Regions from separate parts of the Homo sapiens genome. Here region 2 is linked to region 1. The links are contacts of gene promoters, found by promoter capture Hi-C in human tissues and cell types (Jung and others, 2019). All regions are on one chromosome and are shown on one strand. Each heading gives the region's core, a stretch centred on a gene start or on the middle of the fragment in contact. The rest is flanking DNA. Distances are from core to core; before and after follow the strand shown. Region 1 holds the start of XKR8 (XK related 8). Region 2 overlaps EYA3 (EYA transcriptional coactivator and phosphatase 3).

Region 1 (7,680 bases), core at 2,296-4,795:
TGCCGCAGCTCCTGCACGCACCTAGGCACCACACACAAATGCCCAGAGGGCCAGGTTAGTGTCCTGTGAATTCCTCAGCCTCCCACCCATCTAATGAGTGGACACAGGCTCCAACCTGTCTCCTCACATCCATGCTATGGGGCCTTCGGCAATGTCCTAACCTCACTGAACTTGTTTCATCTGTAAAATGAGGATCGAGGCCGGGTGTGGTGGCTCATGCCTGTAATCCCAGCACTTTGGGAGTCTGAGGCGGGCTGATCACGAGTTCAGGAGATTGAGACCATCCTGGCTAACATGGTGAAGCCTCGTCTCTACTAATACAAAAAATTAGCTGGGTGTGGTGGTGCGCGCCTGTAGTCCCAGCTACTCAGGAGGCTGAGGCAGGAGAATCTCTTGAATCTGCAAGGCGGAGGTTACAGTGAGCCGAGATCGTGCCACTGCACTCCAGCCTGGCGACAGAACAAGACTCCGTCTCAAAAAAAACAAAAAAGCAAAAATGGGGATCAATACACCTTCTACTCCCGCTGGCTAAGCACTGTCCCAAGCTCATCACAAACCTTGTCCTGTTTACTTCTCACAAAAGCCCATTTTACAGATGGGGAAACAGGATCAAGAAGCTAATAAGGTCTGGGTGCAGTGGCTCGCGCCTGTAATCCCAACATTTTGACAGGCCAAGGCAAGAGGATCACTGGAGGCCAGGAGTTTGAGACCACCCTGGGCAACACAGCAAGCCCCATCTCTACAAAGAATTTTTTTTAATTAGTTGGACGTGGTGGTACAAGCCTGTAGTCCAAGCTACTCAGGAGGCTGACGCAGGAGGACAGCTTGAGCCCAGGAGTTCAAGGCCACTGTGAGCCATGATTGATTGTGCCACTGCACTCCAGCCCAGGCAACAGAGACCCTGCCTCTCTCTCTCTTTTTTTTTTTCTTTTTTTTTGGAGACAGAGTCTACATCTGTCGCTTGTCGCCCAGGCTAGAGTGCAGTGGCACAAACTCGGCTCACTGCAACCTCCACCTCCCAGGTTCAAGCGATTCTCCTGCCTCGGCCTCCAGAGTAGCTGGGATGCTGGGATTACAGGCATGCGCCACCACACCTGGCTAATTTTTGTAGAGATGAGCTTTTGCCATGTTCAGCAGGCTGGTCTCAAACTCCTGACCTCAAGTGATCCACCCACGTCAGCCTCCCAGACTGCTAGGATTACAGGCATGAGCCACCAAGCCTGACCAGACCCTACCTCTTTTTAAAAAACAAACAAAAAATTATAAGCAGCTAATAAGTACTGGAATGAGGATTTGGATCCAAACCTGAATTGGAAAGGCATGCTATAAAGTTGCCTGAGGCAGTAGTTCTCAAACTTTAGTGTGCCCAAGATCTCCTGGGGTCCTGTGGGCAAGAGGACATTTGCCTCTTGGGCACTTCTGGGCACAGGCCAGATGGAATCAGACTCTGCCTTGCCCCGGCCACACAGGGGAGGGGCTGGAGGAGGGTTAGATTGGAAGGAGGGATCCCATTTAAGAGGCTGGCCCTGAGTGGTTAAGGATGGAGATTGGGGCGGAGTTAAGAGAGTCCAGAGTTTGGACAGACAGGTCTGGGGTACCCACTGGCATGAAGAGTAAGTGGAGGATGCACCAAGGACCCTCCACCCAGAACTTTGCTCTCAGTTGCCTATTGGGAGAGAACCCCGTTCACTCATCACAAGCTCATTCACCAGACATGTACTGTCACTTCCCCTGGAAGGACACAAGAACACACTGAGGAGCAGGCAGGCAGGACAGGCTGGGGTTCTCCCTCAGCAGGAGCCTTTGCCTATGGTCCCCAGTGACCTAGCAGGGACCCCTGCCTCGGCCAATTCACAGGCAGGAACAGAGACCCATTTCCAAAGCCAAAGCTAGTACAGTCTGTCTGACTCAAGCTCAGCAGAAATATTGGCCACAAAGATGCATAAGGTAGTTACAGATTCACGGCTCATGGAGGCCTGCCCAGGACTTAACAACTGCACCCCTTCATGCCCACCCGGGGTTTTCTGATGTCTCTATAATCCCTCAGGCAAAACTGCCACATTCAAAGCTCCTCTCTTCCACTCCTGGAGACTCCGTGTGGCTTTGTCAAGGCCAGATCTCAAGAGTTTGTAAAAACGGATTCAAGAGCAGATCCTGGCCCTGGCCACCCCATCCCAACCCACACCACCCTCTGCCCTGACTTTGTCGCATGCCTCTGAGCCTTGGGTTTGTTTTCCCATCTCTACGAGGCTCCACCAGGTCCAAAAAGGAGCAGAATCCACACACATTTTCCAGGACCCAGCCTATGCCCAGCCCTGGCTGGCTCCATGGGCATGGATGAGTCAGAGGCCATCTCTGCCCTCTTGCTGGGTCTGGGGTGGGAAGCCAAGTTTCAGGGGGAAGAATACAACCAGGCAGACAGGGTGAGAGGCGGCCTTTGTGAGGGGCAAGCGCTGTGGTGGGGTCAGGGCTGCTGAAACTCCCAGGGAGGCCCAGGTCAAGAAGCCAGCTGAGGTTGCTGAGTGCTCACTCTGAGCCAGGGCAGTGGACAGATGTCATTTCACTGCATCTTCACCAAACGGGCAGGCGCTATCCCCATCCCAATGGGAACAGCAACCAAACAGCCCCACTGAGAGGTCAGTGACTTCCCAAGGCCCTGCCCATGCTGAAACATGGGATGCTGAACTGAGTCCGCAGCCCCTGCCATTACAGGCCAGGCACTGTGCGAGGCACTTTCTCATTCTTTCGCTCACTCTTCACAACAGGCCTGCCCGTCACACCTGTCTCAGGGTGACTACCTCCTTTCTACGCAGGAGGAAACTGAGGCTCAGAGAAATGCAGAAGTGAGGCGAGAGGGGGCAAAGCCAGAAGTGGATCCCTGAGAGGTCCGACTTCAAAGCCCATGCGCCTCCCTTTCTTCCCTGGGCCTCAGTTTCTTCGCCTGTGCCAGGAAAGCTAGGGCTAGAATGAAGGCAGTCTACCGGGATTCCCTTTCCGTAAAGGGCTGCACGCTCACCTGTAGGCCAGGCGCCCACAGGACTTGGTTCCCTCTCCCAGTCCCCTTCCCGGCATATGGCGTGTCACCTGTACAGGTGACCCAGCTGACGGAGGTGCTGGGCTCCGACACTCCTCCCCTCCCGGGGCGAAGCACTCACCTGTACAGGTAACCCAGCTGCAGGAGATGCAGCAGCGCCAGGCAGCGGCGCGGGGGCTGCGACCCGTGCAGGCCGGCAGGGTCAGCGCGCAGCCAGAGCCAGCTGAAGAGCTGCAGCGCCACGGAGGCCAGGCCCAGCAGCGCCAGCACCAGCGCCGCCCACAGGTAGCGGCCGCCGAGCGCATACTGGACGGCGGCCCACAGGTCGGTGCCCAGGTCGAGCAGGAAGGCGGCGGTGCCCAGCACGCCCAGGACCAGGTCCCGAAGGAGGGCGCCGCGGGACGACCAGGGCATGGCCCGCCGGCCTCCGCCCTCTCCTGCTCCTCCGCGGTTGGGGCCTGCCCTCAGGGCCCGGGGTTGCCGAGGCAGGAAGGAGGTGGGCGCAGCCCTCGGGGCGGCCCGGGGCCTGGGCCTGGTGGGCGGGACTTCCCCGTCCCGCCCCGTCCGGGGAGGAGCGAGGCCCGCGGTTGTCCCAGGTCCTCCGCCCGAACCCCAGCTAAAAGCCGCTCGATGCTCTGCTCCCGCCGCCAGCCCAGGGGTCCACCGACCCAGCCCAGCCAAGCCCGCTAGGCCTGAAGACCGACTGCCCTTCGCTTCGCAGGCTTCAAATGGCCTAGTTTTACCTTTGAGGCGCCCGGAGGCCCAAGAAAGCGAGAGGGCGGGGAGACTAGAGCCTGGACCAGGGCTGCGATCCCTCACACCTGTATTGTTGCAAAACAAAACGAAACGCAAAGGCACATTCTAATCCCTAAGTGCGAGACTTTGCAACAACGCGTGCGCCTCGATCCAGGGATACCCGGAGAGCACGGGGCCGCTGGGTTCACGCCAGCGATCCGAGTCGGGGGAGGGCGGGCGTTAGGTTCCTGCAAATGAGTTAACCTCATTTCCATACGGAAGGGAATAGAGGCCGGGCGCGGTGACTCACGCCTGTAATCCCAACACTTTGGGAGGCCCAGGCGGGCGGATCACCTGAGGTCAGGAGTTCGAGACCAGCCTGGCAAACATGGCGAAACCCCGTCTCTACTAAAAATACAAATTAGTCGGGCGTGTTGGCGCGCGCCTGTAGTCCCAGCTAGGAGGCTGAGGCAGGAGAATCGCTTGAACCCGGGAGGCAGAGGTTGCAGAGAGCCGAGATAGCGCCACTGCACTCCGGCCTGGGCGACAGAGCGAGACTCCGTCTCAAAAGAAAAGAAAAGGAACACAACACAGAATCAAACGCATGATGAGCTTTGTTTTGTGAGTTAAACATAATACGCAAAAGAAGTATGCTTGTAGGGGGGTCTTGGGTCGTCATTTCTTTTCTGTTTCTGGTTTGTTTTTGGAGAGAGTCTGGCTTTGTCACCCAGGCTGGAGTGCAGTGGCGCGATCACGGATGGCTGCAGCTCCTGGGGCTTCGCTTCCTGATTCGGTTGTCCTATTTCAGTTCACTCCTCAGGCGCGGAGGAAATGGTGGAAGGCCCAGCTCTGGGTGATCCTGGGCGCTGCCCCCGTTACCCGTTACCAGGAAGAAGGTGAGCCTGGCAGGTCACAGCACGAGCGTGCACAGGCCCAGCAGGGCCATCAGCAGCAGCGGGAGCTGGGGCACGGGCGTGGTGCCAGAGGCATACAGACAGGTGGTGTAAGCGTCAATGTCCACCTGGCGCATGGCACACACGTGCTGCATGCTGCAGGCCTCGTCGCAGACCCCAGCAGAGTAGCTGACTGAGTTATAGACGTAGTAGCGCTGCAGTGTGCTCTGGTCGCCAGCGATGCGGTCCAGCACTGTGTGCATGGAGTGGGCGCTGGCGTCCGGCACCCCATAGGCCTCGGTCAGCTGGTACTCGAGCTCCCAGCGCGGCGTCCCCTGAGCATTCGCCTGGCTCAGGTTCATGAAGTAGGTCACCATGTCCTGGAAAAAGGGTTTGGGGTAGACCGGCTGTGAGCAGTTGTCTGCTTCCATCCCCATCCTGCACCTTGCATTTGCCCCCAAGTTCTTTAGAGCAGTGACCATGACCACTAGTAGTTATTGAGCACTTAGCTGTGCACCCATTGTGCTTGGCAGACATCCTCTGAATCGAATGAGGTAACTGCGCTTATTACCTAGGTTTCACAAATGAGGAAACTGAGGCCTAAAGAGGTTAATTCACTTGGCCAGGGTCATACAGGTATTCATACAGGTATTCAGTGGTAGCAGGATTGGACCCCAGGTTTACCCCAGGTCCCACCATGCTAGGGTACACATAGAAGACGCTCAGTAAATATTTACATAATGAATAGATAAAAGCAACATAAAAAGAGCAACACTAAGCATGAGAGAGATTATGAACTGTAGACTCCTAGGACCCAGGTGCATGTTCACGGCTAGACTCTGCAGGGTTCATCAGTCCAGCGGGTTCCAGGTACATTTATGAACCTGCTTCAGGCCACTGCAGACGGGGTAAGAGGAGCTGCCCGTATGCATGGCCACTCTGTGCCAGGAACATTCCATTATTTCATGTAGTCCTCCTCAAACCCTGCGAGGTTCTGTTACTCCCATTTTACAGATGAAGCAAGTGAGGCACAGAGGTCAAAAGATCAAAAAGCTTATGAGTGGTGGAGCCAGGATTCAAGCTCAGGGCTGACTCCCTCCCTGAGGAGAATGGAGGGCCTGTTAGGGGGTGATGGTGCAGCCTGCCATTCCCCTTGCTCAGACCCTTGGAGTGCCCATGTGGACAACAGGCCACTCTTTAAACCCCTCAGACCTCTTCTTAATCTACCTTTACTAGAATCAAGGACCTGGGTTAGCTCATGCAGTCGTTGGCTTTAAATGTCCTCTCTCCACTCCCAGATCACATCTCTATCCTCACCTCTTCAAGCTCCAACTTGCCCCTTCCCTGTCCACTTTCACTTGATGCCATTTAGCCCTCCCAAAGGTAACAGGTCCAAAACAAGACCTCTGACTGACCCTCCGAAGCCTGATCACCCTGCCACTTATCTCAGTAATCGGCAGCCACAGCCTACCGTTGCACAGGCCAAGAGCCTTGGAAGCCTCCTGGATTCGTCCCTTTTTCTCACAGCTCATATCCACTCTAGCAAATCCTGCATCCAGAATTCATCTGGGACCTGGCACTTTTCACCATCTCACTGCCTCCACCCTGGGCAAGCTACTATCCTGTCATCTGGGATTTGTCCTTCCCTCCAAACGGCCTCACTGCTCCCCCACCTGCCCCTACAGCCTGTTCCCTGCACAGCAGACATGATGATTCCATAAAATTATAAGTCACAGGATTTCATTCTTCTGCGCAAAACCCTCCAAATCCAGAGTCCTCATGGAGGCCTGCAAGATCGGACCTCCCCTCCCACTCTCCCCTTGTGCCTCTTACTGTGGCCACATGGCCTCCGTGCTCTTCCCCTAACCTACCACGCACATTCCCACCCCGGGGCCTTTGACTTGCTGTTCCCTCCACCTCCCCAAGATACCCACTGGGCTCCCTCCCTCAATACACTCAGAACTCAAATGGCACCTTATGTGGACACTTCCCCTTCCCACCTATCTAACACAGTACACACCTCCCATAGCTGTCACCCTGTCGCCTCACTGTTTTGATTTTCTCCTTAGCCCTTCTCTCAGTACTATAATTAATTCTACATATTTATTGTCCCTCTCCTGTAAGATGTCAGGTCCAGGAGAGGGGTGACTTTGTTTTTAAATTTACATATCTTCTGAGATTAGAACAGGGCCTGGCCAATGGCACACACTTAATGCATTTTGTTGGATAAATAAAGGAATAATATTTTTCATCTCAACAACCACAAGCTCATCCTACGAGGTGAGGGACTGCCCAAAGAATTAGGGGCTGGAGCCTCGTCTGTGTACGGAAAATGTGGACAATGGGCTTGAAGTCAGACTGTGGGAAGCCTTGAGTACTAGGTCAAGGAGACACAACTTTATCTTGAAGGCACTGGGGAGCCACTGAAGGTTTTTGAGCAGGACGGAGACAAGATGAAAGTGGTGCTATAGGAGATTAGTTTCTTCTCTCTTGTGTAGCGGATGGGCCATAGCAGGGCAGGGCCAGAGGCAGGGAGACCAGGTATGAAGCTGTGACAGTCATCCAGGGGAAAAGGTGACTTGGTGAGGCACTGCCCTGACTCGGTGGCAGGTGCCTCCAGGGTTCTGATCCTGAGCTGGAGAAGGGTGGAAGGAGCTCAACCTTCCTGAGGCTCAGTGGTCAGGGGAAGGTGGATAAGCTGAGAGTGAGGGAAGGTGGTGATGCATTTAAGCCCCTCCCACCCTCCTCCTCTGGCCTCCGCAGGACTCCTGACCTTCAGGCTCAGTGTGGCTCGGTCATATTCGAACACCCGGATGGCTGGATTGTTGGCCCCATTGACCACTCCAGGTAATGTGGTTTTCCATGGGGTGACTCCAGGTGTGATGAACATGGCGCTTATGGGGACACCTGTCAGGAGAGAGACAGCAGGACTGAGCGGGTCTGGGGAGAGAAGGAGGGAGGGAGCTGGCAGTTGCCCTCCAGGTTGAATACCTGCATCATCATAGAGCATCCGAAAGC
Region 2 (7,800 bases), core at 3,706-6,205, 99 kb before region 1:
TCTCATCTTCCTTTACCTTTTGTTCCCTAATACCTATTCTACCTTTTAAAATTTCAGACTTCACTGCTCTTTGAATTCATAATTCAAATTTGCACATTATTATTATTGGAAAATCATATCTAATAAAGGTTTTAGGCCGGATGTGGTGGCTCACACCTGTAATCCCAGCACTTTGAGAGGCCGAGGCTGGTGGATCACTTGAGGCCAGGAGTCTGGGACCATCCTGGCCAACATGGCAAAACCCCATCGCTACAAAAATTAACCAGGTGTGGTGGCGCACACCTGTAATCCCAGCTACCTGGGAGGCTGAGGCATGAGAATTGCTTAAACTGGGGAGGTGGAAGTTGCGGTGAGCCGAGATTACGCCGCTGTGCTCCAGCCTGGGTGACAGAGCAAGATGCTGTCTCCAAAAAAAAAAAAAAAAAAAAAGGTTTTAGTTATTTCCCCCCCCAAAAAAAATTAAAAATAAAAAAAAATATATATATATATAAGGCACTTTGGAAAGTGTAGTAAATAAACTTAAAATACAATGTAGTCAGTGAGCAAATCTATGGACTACCTTTTTTCTATGTGGGACTGTGTCATAGATATCCAGTTAACTCCTGAATATCTCTGTACATACTTAGCTGCATGCAAATTCTCTTTCTAGGACCTATAAATCAGACTTTGCCTTACTTAGACACTTCTTTTGAAGTTGTAATTAAGAGTGATATATGCCTTGTTTTCATGGAAAACAATTTGACCTTTATTCTGTGCTTTTTTTTTTTTTTTTTGAGATGGAGCGTTAGTCAGTTTCCTGTCGCCCAGCCTGGAGTGCAGTGGTGCAATCTCGGCTCACTGCAACCTCCGCCTTCTGAGTTTAAGCAGTTTTCCTCCCTCAGCCTCCTGAGTAGCAGGAATTACAGGCGCGTGCCACCACGCCAGATTAATTTTTTGTATTTTTAAGAGAGACAGAGTTTGACCATGTTGGCCAGGCTAGTTTGAAACTCCTGACCTCAAGTGATCCGCCTGCTTTGGCCTTCTAAAGTGCTGGGATTACAGGTGTGAGCCACTGCACCCAGCCTATTCTGTGCTTTTAAACAAACAGAACACACACACACACACACACACACACACACACACACCTACATATATTTAATTTCTCTTCCTAAGCCTAAGAGCTTTAATAACACATTGAAGCAACCTAATTTCTTGCTTATGGCCATTTACATTTACAGGGTACATAGTATGTTGAACTTGGGACAAAACAGAAACTATGAGGTAGGAATCTAATTTGAATTTTGAAATAAAATATTTGTTACTAATTATTTCCCTTCTAACTTCTAAAGAGTAAAAATAAAATTTATGGCTGCCATATTACAGAAAGATCCTGCTTTTATTTTTAAGCATGCAAAATCTCAATAGTATTCAAAATTGTGTGGCTCTTGAATCAAACCAAAGTTTCTATTTTTTCACTGTCAGCATTCACAGGTAGAGAAGTGTAAAGTCTTAGGAAATACTATTTCTATTCTCAATTTAAAATTTTCTCAGAATTCTGTCCATGAAGGCAAATGAATACTGACAAGCTCTATTTCCAAAAAAGGTGATAAAACAAGTGTATTTAGAAACCAGTAGTAAGAATTGAAATTAGAAAATTGTGAAAAGACATTACTTTCCAAATGTTCTAAAGGTACTTAAAAGATTAACTCGGGGCATGTCTTGTAATTTCATCAGCTGTTTGACTAAGTTTTAATTTATTTTAATTACATTAAAAATCCACTTTTCACTTCTGTGTTACAACTGTTGTATTACTTGATATTTTAAAAGATGAATCTCACTGAATGTAAAATAATGTCAGGTTACATTAATGGTAAAAACAAACAAACAAACAAAAAAAAACCGTTGACCGGGCGCGGTGGCTCACACCTGTAATGCCAGCACTTTGGGAGGCTGAGGTGGGCGGATCACGAGGTCAGGAGATCGAGATCATCCTGGCTAACACGGTGAAACCGCGTCTCTACTAAAAATACAAAAAATTAGCCGGGCGTGGTGGCGGGCGCCTGTAGTCCCAACTATTCAGGAGGCTGAGGCAGGAGAATGGCGTGAACCTGGGAGGCGGAGCTTGCAGTGAGCTGAGATCGCGCCACTGCACTCCAGCCTGGGCGACAGAGCGAGACTCCATCTCAAAAAACAAAAGACAAAAAAAAAAAACACGTTAAATTCTAGAACTAATACAAGGAAACTAATACTAAGATTTTTACAGTAATTCTGTACTTCTTTTATTACCAAGTTTTGCAATATTGTGTCTTAGTTATACTGTATTTTCATCTCTTGCTAGTAAGTATGACTTTTGATTGTATAGCATGCACCACTTGTGGAAAATGGTATGAAGTCTTAATAAAAGTTTTAAACATTGATAAATGCTGGGACTGTGATGAATACTTGCATTCTTATATTTAGTATGTTCTGATATTTCAGGTCTTTCAGGGTACAAATTATTGGAAGGCAGGAGAATACTGTATTGATGGAAACTAGTATTTAGATGAATGTTTTGGTAGAATTACATAATTTGTGGTCATTAGTGCATTTTATACAGAATGTACCAGAATGTATGTTTGCAAACTTCCCACACATTGTATGTTGCCAGTAGAATCCCGGGGGATTTTGTAATCTATTCTTTCCTTGTAGGCAGCTTTTTGTTTTAAAATGATCAAAATTATTCGTGGTCATTGACCAGTTATTTTGAGATAGCAAGCCTGGTTTTTAAACTTTTCTTTTCTTTTCTTTTTTGAGACAGAGTCTCACTCTGTCACCAAGCTGGAGTGCAGTGGTGCGATCTCAGCTCACTGAAACCTCCGCCTCCCAGGTTCACGCGATTCTCTTGCCTCAGCCTCCCAAGGAGCTGGGACTACAGGCTTGCGCCACCACGCCCAGCTAATTTTTGTATTTTTAGTAGAGACAGGGTTTCACCATCTTGGCCAAGATGGTCTTGATCTCCTGACCTTGTGATCCGCCTGCCTCGGCGTCCCAAAGTGCTGGGATTACAGGCATGAGCCACCATGCCTGGCCAGTTCTTTTCTTCTAAATGTAGAAATTATTTGTGTACTTTTTATTCTCCTAGATTGAAAAGCCAAGAAGACAGAGAATTTTAAAGATGGAAACAACAAAGGGTGCTTATTTTCACAGAATAGATGTAGAAAGGAATGTCTTTAAATGTTTCCCTTAAAGAAGGTTTTCTTGCAGCTTACAGAATTTATGTCAAGAAATAGTAGATTCTTCTTTTTCTATTATAAAATCAATTTAATATTACCATATTTCTAAAAAGCAAAATTCAATATTTTAACATTTATTGATAATTTATATCCCCACCATTTATACTAATGTTTCTATGTTTTTTCTTTTAAAATGATTCTTCATTATTCAACTTGATAGAGCGTTTTCTTACTTTTTAAAACCCATGACCCCTTTTGACCTGTAAGTAGTATTATGTTCTCCTTTAATGTAATTCAGATTTTTAAAACGAATTAGTTTTTGTGTTTAAAAACAAAATTAAACCACATTATTGAGTGTGTATACACATAAATATTTTTTAACAATTATTCTTACCTTCCTCCTATCAGAGATGAAATTTATAACTCTTCCCCCATGGTGGAGTGGATATCCCTTTTATCTCCCTTGCTGAAAATATACTAGAGATTGTAGTTTTATAGTCATGGCCTTCAATTAGGGAAAACATGTAATGTTGTAAGTTTTCTATGGATGAGAACTGGTCACACAAAAAATCAACAACTTGGCCAGGTGTATGCCTGTAATCCCAGCACTTTGGGAGGCTGAGGCAGGCAGATCACCTGACGTCAGGAGTTCAAGACCAGGCTGGCCAACATGGCAAAAACCCATCTCTACTAAAAATACAAAAATTAGCCAGGCATGGTGGCGCGCCTGTAGTCCCAGCTACTTGGGAGCCTGAGGCAGAAAAATTGCTTGAACCCGGGAGACGGAGGTTGCAGTTAGCCGAGATTGCGCCACTGCACTCCAGCCTGGGTGACACAGCGAAACCCTATCTCAAAAAAAAAAAAAAAAAAAAAAATCCAACAAATGAGGTATTGAAGGTATTCCATTTCTCTAATGATGTGGTCCTATTTTGTTGTTTCTAATGGGATGAAATAATATATGTACATAATGTACATTTAGACAGTATAAAATGAAAAGGATTGTCCCTTAAAGAAAAGATACTTCAATTTGAAACTAAGACATAAACTAGTAAAACCAAAAATGTTTGATCTTTCATAGCTGTGAATCAGTTTTAGGTCACATTGACTGTGTTGTTCTAAGCTGAGCAAAACAAGTGCAGGGAAGATAGCTCCTATGAGCTTTACTTATTGCACTCTGTAATTCTGTATCACTAGTTACCTGTGTCATGTAGTAGGAGAACTTAGCTTTTGAGGCTCTGTGTATGAGCTACAGTGAGAGCATTGAGCATCAAGTGCTTCTGACCTTTAAACTTCTTTTTTCTTTTGATATTCTAAATTGGGGTAGGGAATAAAGCTGTGTTAGAGTTGGACAACTTTGCATCTAATTGTAACCTTATGTGTGTTTTCTCTCCTTTTCACATTCTGGAGTGTGGCTCTAAAATAAAGTTGTGTTGTATTGCAACACGACAGAGTAATAGAAGTAGAGTGGTGGTATACTGGCATAACAAGTTTTTGGTTTTCTTGTTATTTGTCTATTTTCAGTACTTGTGTGATAAGATTATATACTTACTTTAGCTTTGTATGTGAGTTAGGTACAGTGGTTGGTAGAAAAGCTAAAAACAGCTGTGACTTTAATTAAATATACAAGCAATCACATCTTTTGGGAGAAGTGCTGGTTTCACTTTTGTTAGATAGAAATGGAGTATTTCATTTTTATAATGTATGCAGCTTTCTAATTTTTGTCTCTTTGTCTCCTGTCAGTAGGACATGGTAAGGTGGACTTAGAATCCCATTTTTCCTTTTTTGTTTGAAAATCAGGACAGAAAGAGCAGGGTCTGAGAACGTAAAGATTTTGCTTAAATAATTGGGCAGTACAGTTAGTAGAAGTTCATTATTTCAGAATTAAATTAGGTCCTATCTTTGGATGATTATTTTCTTTAGTTCTAAAAGTCAAGGTTTCACTCTACTTATTTATTTTTATTATTGAGATGCAGAAGAATTGAGTTTTCCTTGAAATTGATGACATATAGACAGATAGTTGGTTGTGAATGCATTTAGTTGATATTCCGGTTTGTCCTATTTAAAGTGATTCTGTGTGTCTGTGTTAACAGTTATGTAAATGTTCCACATTAAAGCAGGTTAGATGTTATCATAACTTGCTGACTTGCTAGGCCAGTCCCTATCATTTTTAGTGTAACTCTAATCCTTAAAAAAATATTTTATTATCTGCACGTGGCTGTCATTGTAAAATGTTCAATGCATTAGGCACCATAGTAACCAGCAGAAGTGGTTCCACATGTTGGCTTTTGCAAGGTATTATAAAAGTCATTGTGTACACCTCTCTTGATTTGGTGTAGCATGTCATTTTTGAAAAGCCACGTGCAGGTTTGAGATTTTGTGATTGGAACTCACGTAGAAAGCTTGGGGTAGCAAGATACTAAAAAATCATTCTCTGATGGCCTCAATGATAATACTTTAAGAGTGTATAAAGCTTTGAATCCTCCTTTTTAAAAACAGATTGTGAAAACTGCTGAGAGAGACTTGCAATCCAGTCACATAAGTATAATAAAGAAATATTGGTCCTCATGGAAGAAGAGCAAGATTTACCAGAGCAACCAGTAAGTATTTCCTTTAACAGTTTAAAGTTGATTGTAGAAGAGCTAATCTTAAGAGATTTTAATTATTATTCAGTTATAGATTCCAAATTAGAAATAAAAATAAGGAAAAGATTCCTTGTTTCCTTTCAAGAAAACAATGTTATATTTTTCTAACTTAATTCTAAGGAGTCTAAGGAAAATTTAGCATTACGAAATGAATATTGCATTTAGAAATGTCATTTAAAAAAATAAGTGGCTAGTGTTACAGTTTTTAGAAAATAAAAGAGGACGTCTCTTTACTGATCTGACAGTATATCACCATTTCTACCAGAAAATTTAGTTTTGTTTTTACCTAAATTTCCTTGAGAGTTAATTTTTTAAAAAGTAGTAGTAGTGAGGAAGTTATAATTTGACCACTAGCTAATTCTTAAAAACAGATAAAACCCTAGAGACTATATTGAATTCTTAATTTCTTTTAAATATTGAACATAATAAAATAATTTTAAATGTCCCCAGGTGATATGGGTTTATCTTCTTTTTGGTTTTTGGCCCTTAATATTTAAAAAACAAAAGCAATAGTGTCATTCTTTTAAGATAACTTTTATGCTAGAGGGTCTTTTCCTTTTGTCTTCAGTTTCTTTCTCTGAAGTTTGGTAAATACCGATTCAATTTGCTATCCTGAGTGGGCCTCTTACATTTCATATTAAGAGAGGATACAGCATGGTACATGTTTACTTTATGAAAATCTAACCTATAAAAATTTGAATTTTGAAAGCAAATAATAGGATATGTTTTTCGTGTTCTAGTTGTATTCTTTAGGTATACTAGCTCCCATTTAAATGATAAAGTCCTTTAATATATTTTAAATATTTTTCTTTATATTGAGAAATGCATATTGATGATTACTTTGTCATTATTCTTCTAGCCCTCTCAGTTGAGGTAAGTATAAAACTAGGAAGACATTAGCAACTGGTAAAAAGACCTTTTGAAACATTTGAAGTGTGATCCCTATCCCTGGTGGGACTTTAATTATCAGGGAAATGGTAGGGTTAAAAATTATCTTGAGCAGTGTGTTTAGGATTTACACTACTGGAACAAATAGCTGAATTATAGATACTATATGTACCAGGAAAAATTATGCCATTGAGTTTTTAATGTGGTAAGACAAAGGTCTAGTCATATTTTTAAAAGACTTATGTAAGTGTTGACATACTGTTGAAATATGGGTATTGTTAGTTACTCCTTACCTATTTAAGGTAATGAGAATTGTGAGGCTGACCTGCTAACAAGTCATCTATCTCTTCTGCCCTGCTTCATTTCCTTGTCATTCTCTTGAACTTCTGTAACATGATGTGCAAAACCTGATTATTACTTCAGAGAAAGGTAAGAAATTGAAGCACTTTAAAACCAAAATTTCTGCTGACTATAAATGGTTGTCACAGGGCATTATTTCCTTATTGATTTATGCCCAGATCTTAATATAAAAAGGTGATTGAATGACGACATGGAGAGATCAGTGCCACTGAAAGAAAAGTTGAGTGTTTACTCATAGTTCCCCTTGAAACAAGAGGCATAGCATGCCACACGGGGGAAGTACCACTGTTGGTCAGGAGGCAAAAAAGAGTGGGAGGAAGGCACGGGCCACAGACTTAATGAGGTTTCCACAGGAAAAGCAAGGTAGGCAGGGTAAACAGCTTAGCGTTGACTAGTTTGAATAATTCTTCAGGCTTTGTGGCCTGTGGACTATCCCTGGTTTTCTGGTGGTACTTTGTCCTGGGTTGATTTATGATTTAGGGCAGGAGAAATAGGGGCTTAGTGTGTGAGAGTTAGATAAAGGAGGTGGTTCAGAGTATGGGCACTGGATCTCAGGGGAGATAAAAAACAAGTTTGGCCTTGAGTTTGGCTCTGTAATTAATGGATGTCAAACAGACAAATACAGAATCTATGAAAACACAATACTTATTAATGTTTAAAATAGAACAGGAAGAGTAATGACACATTTTGAGGTAAAAAAAAAAAGCTTTTCACAGGCT

Evidence for each region. The method cuts DNA at HindIII sites, captures the fragments that hold promoters and counts their contacts. A contact is called where the count stands out against the background at its distance.
Region 2: a contact is called between a fragment that was not itself captured here and the fragment with the promoter of XKR8 in region 1, in 2 of the 25 tissues and cell types used here (dorsolateral prefrontal cortex and hippocampus).

Annotation. Positions count from the first base shown.
Region 1 is chr1:27,955,838-27,963,517 of GRCh38, reverse strand. XKR8 (XK related 8) reads right to left here and starts at 3,545. Exons shown (of 3, transcript NM_018053.4): 1 at 3,156-3,545; 2 at 1-21. The coding sequence starts at 3,448. It overlaps SMPDL3B (sphingomyelin phosphodiesterase acid like 3B), which reads right to left. Exons shown (of 8, transcript NM_014474.4): 6 at 7,654-7,680; 7 at 7,436-7,569; 8 at 4,366-5,042. The coding sequence ends at 4,680. RefSeq lists an enhancer at 3,041-3,604 and a silencer at 3,285-3,674. The HindIII fragment of the contact is 22,893 bases long and covers 1-6,914 here.
Region 2 is chr1:28,055,982-28,063,781 of GRCh38, reverse strand. EYA3 (EYA transcriptional coactivator and phosphatase 3) reads left to right here. Exons shown (of 18, transcript NM_001990.4): 2 at 5,688-5,788. The coding sequence starts at 5,756. Among named protein-coding and RNA genes, the nearest start is that of EYA3, 29 kb to the left of the region's middle. The HindIII fragment of the contact is 7,152 bases long and covers 1,380-7,800 here.